Linked DNA regions of Homo sapiens: region 1 is linked to region 2. The links are contacts of gene promoters, found by promoter capture Hi-C in blood cells and fetal thymus (Javierre and others, 2016). All regions are on one chromosome and are shown on one strand. The core of a region is centred on a gene start or on the middle of the fragment in contact, and the rest is flanking DNA. Distances in the headings are between cores, read along the strand shown. Region 1 holds the start of SPATA31F1 (SPATA31 subfamily F member 1). Region 2 holds the start of CIMIP2B (ciliary microtubule inner protein 2B).

What was found. The method cuts DNA at HindIII sites, captures the fragments that hold promoters and counts their contacts. A CHiCAGO score of 5 or more calls a contact.
Region 1: the fragment with the promoter of SPATA31F1 here is called in contact with the fragment with the promoter of CIMIP2B in region 2 in 2 of 17 cell types (non-activated CD4 T cells and megakaryocytes); the score reaches 5.6 in non-activated CD4 T cells.

Annotation. Positions count from the first base shown.
Region 1 is chr9:34,727,998-34,731,242 of GRCh38, reverse strand. It overlaps SPATA31F1 (SPATA31 subfamily F member 1), which reads left to right and starts at 1,755. Exons shown (of 4, transcript NM_001141917.2): 1 at 1,755-1,959; 2 at 2,589-2,634; 3 at 3,161-3,221. The coding sequence starts at 1,816. It also overlaps a transcript of PHF24 not described here. The HindIII fragment of the contact is 7,130 bases long and covers 1,203-3,245 here.
Region 2 is chr9:35,562,420-35,565,414 of GRCh38, reverse strand. It overlaps CIMIP2B (ciliary microtubule inner protein 2B), which reads left to right and starts at 1,537. Exons shown (of 6, transcript NM_001164310.3): 1 at 1,537-1,648; 2 at 2,026-2,249; 3 at 2,335-2,540; 4 at 2,715-2,766; 5 at 2,841-2,995. The coding sequence starts at 1,587. The HindIII fragment of the contact is 1,503 bases long and covers 328-1,830 here.

The sequences.
Region 1 (3,245 bases), core at 506-3,005, 830 kb after region 2:
ATACCCCATTTACCCTGATGTGATTATTATGCATTGTATGCCTGTATCAAAATATCTCACATACCCCATAAATATATACACCTACTATGTACCCATACAAAATAAAAATAAAACATTTTTTAAAAGAGAGATACACGAGGAAGAAAAATAGGAGGAGACAGGGATGAGAGACAGCTATACACTCTTCTGCCTTTTAAATTTTGTGCCATGTGTAAGTATGCTTACTTTAAAAAAAATAGTCTTAGGGATTGAAATAAAATAGATACAAAGGCCCTCCCTCCATCAAGAGGCCTCTATCCTGATCCTCCAATCTTTCTCACAATTGCTCTCCAGTCCACCCTTCTATATTCTGCTAGAGATACACTGCATTTGTTATTGCCAAATGAACTCCATGGCCCATTCCCTAGATTCAGCATGAGCTGGTAAGTTTTTCTCCCACCAGGAAGAGTCCTTTTACCCACAACCTGCACTGTTAAACTTAACTTCGACTACCCAGGAGCCCTCTCTGATGACCATGATCCTCACTATGATTTCTCTTCTCTGAAATGGAATGTTTGTGGCCAGAGCCTTACGAATGAGTATATAAGTCTATTTGTAGTGATTGTTGGCTCTTGCTTTGTATGAATTAGTCTTGTCTTTGAAACTACATTTTTAAGTATCTTGAAAGCAGAAAGCCAATGCGGCTCAAATGTCTTTGTATCCTCAACACTCCCCAGCTTAGGGCTGAGCACATATTGGGTGCTTACCACATCTGCTGGGTGGGCTGGATACTGAGGAAGGACCAAAGCCTCTTCAGAGATTTTCAGCCCAAAGGTTTCTTGGCCTGAGACCACCATTACCAGAGCAGAACTCTCTCAAGGAAATTCAGGAATACTGAGGTGTTGGTGGCATATCACAATATCTACAAAAGCTAGGCAGGTAAATCAATAGTCTGGCTATGGAAGTAATGGGTCCTGAAGCTGAATTGGAAAACACATGCCCTGCCTAAAAATTTACAAAATACAGATTTGAGAAAAATAAACAAACAAACAAAAAAAACATCCTCAGGCAAACAGCATACATCCAACCATGAACAGCAACTAGTCACTTGTGACCCACAGTCAGAAGCGGCCACTAACCCATCTCTGCAGGCATTCATCTCCCTGAGCATGAATGTGCCTCCATGGAAGGTAGCATTTACAGTCCCAACCCATCTGCAAGCTTGAGGCCACACAGACCAGATACGTACAACCACCTTGGCCTCTCCCTACCACCCTACCACATCAGCCATGGTCCCCTTCCTGCACCTCTGTTACCAATCACCCATTGCCTAAAACATCAAAGATCTCCATTTCCAAGCCATAACCAGACTCCGCCCTCCCTAAATTCATGTGTGTTTCTCAGGTATATTACCAAAACTAGTGGGAGAGTTAGTGGAGGTTCCTCCGGCCTATCTACCCCTTCTTATGAGGTGACCCCTGTGCCAAAGCACTCAGTTTTCTGAGGACAGGTGACCATACAGTTGTGAAGGAGAGAGCCGAGGCATCAGGCTGGTATAGGGAGTGGAAAGTGAAGACAGACTAGGAAATAGACACTGCTTGTGGCACCTTCAGTCCCAGGCTCAAAACACCCTCATCTACAGACTGAATCACCACATGAGCTTCCCTACTACATGTACCTTATGAAACAGGAGGGCTTTGTGATGCAGTCTGGTGGCCTAGTTCCGTCCTCTGTGAGGTGGACATGACAAGGCCTAGCACTGGGATTCATTAGGCACCAGAACCCTGAATTCCGAGATAGAGGGATGGTTGATCTCATGCTAATGAAGTTTAGACCATGTTGAGCCCTACTTTTGTTCTGTGGGAAGTTGGATATCCCTTATACATCTATGGCTCCATCTTCATCGTTATTGTAATTATCTGGCAAGTGAAAAGGAGCCACCATGAATTGAGTTCAGAACCTAAAAGGAGCTGCTGCCGGGTAGGGCTGTGATCCCAACTGAACTAATTAAGCCTCAGATAAGAAGCCTATAAGTTCTTACCGTGCTCCCTTATAATCCCCACCCCAGAATTTTTATAGCATACTTTCAGTTACCTTTGTGTAATACTTTTCTTCTCAGAGACTATAATTCCTTACCAGGCCCTTCCCGCAACATAGTCTGATTGAAAAGCCAAGAACCTCTCTATTTGGTTTGGATTGAGAACTAGATAATATGAAGTCTATCTTGCTGGATCTCGGAAGCTCTCTGAATATGGGGGATTTTTCCGGTTGGTGGGCTTTGTAAGCAGAAGTCCTTTGGTTGTTAGAACCATTTACCCTTTTGTCTGTTCTGCTTTTCCTCCTGTGTCATCCTCAGCATCCAGCAGGACTTCTCTGTGAATCAGATGGGAGGTATAGAATTTGGAAAAGCCTCCAAGTGAATCCAAAATAAGCAGAGAAGGAAAATGGGGTAAAAAGGTGGAATAGGCAAAGGAAGTCCAGGAGAGTGTATAAAATACAGATAGATATATACAAAGCGAGTGAAAAATGTATGTAAGTTTTGTCTCATTTTGGACATGAGAAAGAAAATGGTGTCCCAGCTTCACATTCTAATGTTTTTGTCTTCTAAGTGTCACCAAAAAGTCAGGCAAAGAGCTAGAGATGCAGCATCAACAGGTAAAGTCCCAATCTCTCCTCTGACTCCCTTCCACTGTGGGTGTTTCCCATGAATCCTGTCCCTCTGTGACCTCTGGAGCCAAGAGCCAGGTGCTCTGCCACTGAAGACTCCAGTTCCCCAGACTGAAATTTCCATGGGTGGGAAATCATAACTTGAGAATGTTCCAAAATCCTGTACCTCAATGCCCTGGAAATGAAGAATTAAGAAAGTAGAGCAGATGTTCTTAATTGTATAACTTACTAGTTTTATGACCCTGTGGAAGTCATTTCATCTCTCATTCTTATCCACAAAATGAGCAAAACACTGACAATCCTGCCTCAATCACATTGTGGTTGTAAAAATCAAATGAAATTAGATATGGGACATTGTGTTACAGCGATGCTGTACTCAGACATGCCTTAGAGTACGGACTTTTCAGGATTGTAGTCTTTTCTTGATGAGAGTCAAAGGCCTTACTATTCAGCTTCCTATAGGATGCCTATGAAATTATCCCATGCCATATAACACTGTCTCCCCGTTCCTCAGCTAGGAGACGTTCCCGGGAAGAAGCTGAGAAGCCACAGAAGCTGCTCTCCATCATTAAAAGGTGATCTATTGCTCTTTGCACTCT
Region 2 (2,995 bases), core at 288-2,787:
TTTCGTCTTGCGCATCTCTGTCTCTCTCACTTGCTCTAATTTGATGTGAATCTTTTCTTTAAGAGCAAAGAAACTTTTCCCAGGACCCTCCCCTGCCCCAGCAGATTTCCCCTCATATTATCCAGAATGCTGGAAGCCCGTGCCTAAGCGGTCATGGGGAAGGAGCATGGGACCACGCTTAGACTAATCCAGCTCATTCCTCCAGGCTGGCTCTCCAAGCCTCCCTGATGCAGTTTCTGGCTCCTCGGAAGAAAGGAGATGGGGGTCAGGAATAGGTATAAGCTGTGATAGTGTCTGTCACAGAATCCCAAGTCTGGTTGTTAAGCTTGACACACTGCTGCTATTCTGGGCTTGCCCCTCGGCTCCCATCCTCACTCTAACATATTTCCTCAGCTGTGAGGTAAGTCCCCACAACTCTAAATGACACATTCTAAGGCTGTCCTTGGCAGAACAGTGAGGAACATGAAATGTGTGCCTTGGAGCCCAGTGCTCTTATGTAATTCCCCTGGGATGTCAGTGCCGTCCTTGGTCAGCGCAGGCATGGTCACTGGAGGTGGGGAGAAGAGCAGAGCTCTGCCTCAGAAACGTGGGCCCTGAGCCCTCAGCCTGGCCCTGACCCAGCCCCAGAACTTTTTGTTTTGTTTTGTTTTTTGAGGTGGGGTCTGGCTGTGTTGCCCAGTTTGGACTGAAACTCCCGGACCCAAGTGATCCTCCCACCTCAGCCTCCTCAGTACGTTGATGTGAGCGTGGCTGCACCCGGCCCAGAGTTGGGTTTTAAACATGTTTCCCCGTCCTCTGAGATCTCATCTTCCTGGTCTGTGCTTTTTCTTCTCTTAGAATCCGAATTTTTTATTTTATTTTATTTTTTTAACAAATTCTAACTTGCTCCCTAGTGTTACCGCCCACACCTACAACAACTTTATCCTGTTTCCTTCCCTCAACCCCCACAGCTTTTCTGGCTCCCATGGAGTGCACACTCGGCCACTGTGGCCGGAGCCTGGCAGAGCCTGGCTCATTTGTTGAATGGATGACTCTGATTATAGCAGGTATTCAGTAAGCCACTCTTGTTAAATTATTGAAAATAAACGATGTTACTCCCTAGAGGTGTCTAGGTTCCTTTTTTTCCCCCATCACCTGTCCTCTTTCACCTCCCCTCTGGGCCCTGGCTTCCCTCAAAGATCCTTTCTCCAGGTCCCCCATCTCCTTTGATGAAGACTCATGAGGAACACAGTGTCCACCTCTCAGGCAGGCGCTCAGGAAGGAAGTCGCTGAGACAGAGCTCAGTGGCCCGAATGGTTTCTGCTCCCTCACCTCCCACGTCCCACCTCCCACGTCCCACCTCAGGGCTTCCTTCGGTTCGGGCCCTGCCCCACGAGCAGGACCACCTTTGTCCTGGACAGACAGACCTGCTAGCCTCTGCTCTACAGTTCTGCCGGCCTTCGCCCTGGCTGTCCTCACACGAGTGCCCCCTCCCTTCTCTCCTCCCTTAGCCCCGCCTCCTTCCTCTAGCCCCACAGCCCTGGACACGGTACACACAGACCAGAGCCTTGGCTCAAAGGCAAACAAAAGGAAATGCCCGGCTCCCCATGGCTGTGGCCAGCACCTTCATACCAGGGCTCAACCCTCAGAACCCTCATTATATCCCAGGGTAAGACTCCCACTTAGCGCTCCCCGCTTGCTGCTGGGAGTAGGGGTATAGGGTGGAGGAATTAAGCTGCTTAGAGCATGGGGCCAAGCGGACAGGTTGGTTTGGGAGGCTGAGGTCTCTATGGTGGTGGATGGAAAAGGAGAAGCAAGGGACTAGTGAGACACCGGGTCTGCCCCAAAGCTTTGTGTTGTTCTCTCCATGGGAACAGGGTAACAGCAGAGGAAGGATCGAAAGCCCAGGCAGAGAACTTAGAAATGCCTGCTCCAAATATATACACTGCTGAGTCCAGAAAGATCAGGGCTTCAGAGGTCTCCGCTTCTGCCTCTGGGGATGGCGGGGCAGGGCGATTCTGGTGAGTGGGAGAGTCTGTGCTGCAGGTACACTGGACACTGCCCACTACTTCGGTTCAGCGTGGGCCAGACCTATGGGCAGGTGACTGGTCAGCTACTTCGAGGCCCTCCTGGCCTAGCCTGGCCCCCTGTCCACCGCACACTTCTGCCTCCCATTCGGCCTCCAAGATCTCCTGAGGTTCCCAGGGAGAGTCTACCTGTCAGGCGTGGGCAAGAAAGGCTCAGCTCCAGCATGATCCCTGGGTACACAGGTTTGTACGCAGGTATGCACAGGTGCCCCTCCCAGGAGCATGTGTTCCAAACACTAACGAGTCTTCCTTGTCCCTGCCTGCCCAGGTTTTGTACCCCGGGCACAGTTCATCTTTGCCAAGAACTGCAGCCAGGTCTGGGCCGAGGCTCTGAGTGACTTTACTCACTTGCATGAAAAGCAAGGGAGTGAAGAGCTACCAAAGGAGGCCAAGGGAAGAAAGGACACAGAGAAGGACCAGGTGCCAGAGCCGGAGGGGCAGCTGGAGGAGCCGACACTGGAGGTGGTGGAACAAGTGAGACCAAGAAGCTGGTGGGGAGTGCAGAGGTGTGGGAGTGGGGGTCTTACTGTGTGTCCGGGCAGTGGGGGCAGCATGAGTAGTGTGGCTGTGGGTTCAGGGGATGTGCACTTGATTGTCAGCTCCACCTCCTTGGGAGATTGTGTGACAGCACAGGGGCTTCTCTCACAGGCTTCTCCCTACTCCATGGATGACAGGGACCCTCGGAAGTTCTTCATGTCAGGTGAGAGCTGGGGGGTCAGGATCAGAGGCGTGGGGAGGCCCCAGGATGCCTTGGCTCAGTGTCCCCATCCTCAGGCTTCACTGGCTATGTGCCCTGCGCCCGCTTCCTCTTCGGCTCCAGCTTTCCTGTGCTCACCAACCAGGCACTGCAGGAATTTGGGCAGAAGCACTCACCAGGCAGTGCCCAGGACCCCAAACATCTCCCCCCACTTCCCAGAACATACCCTCAG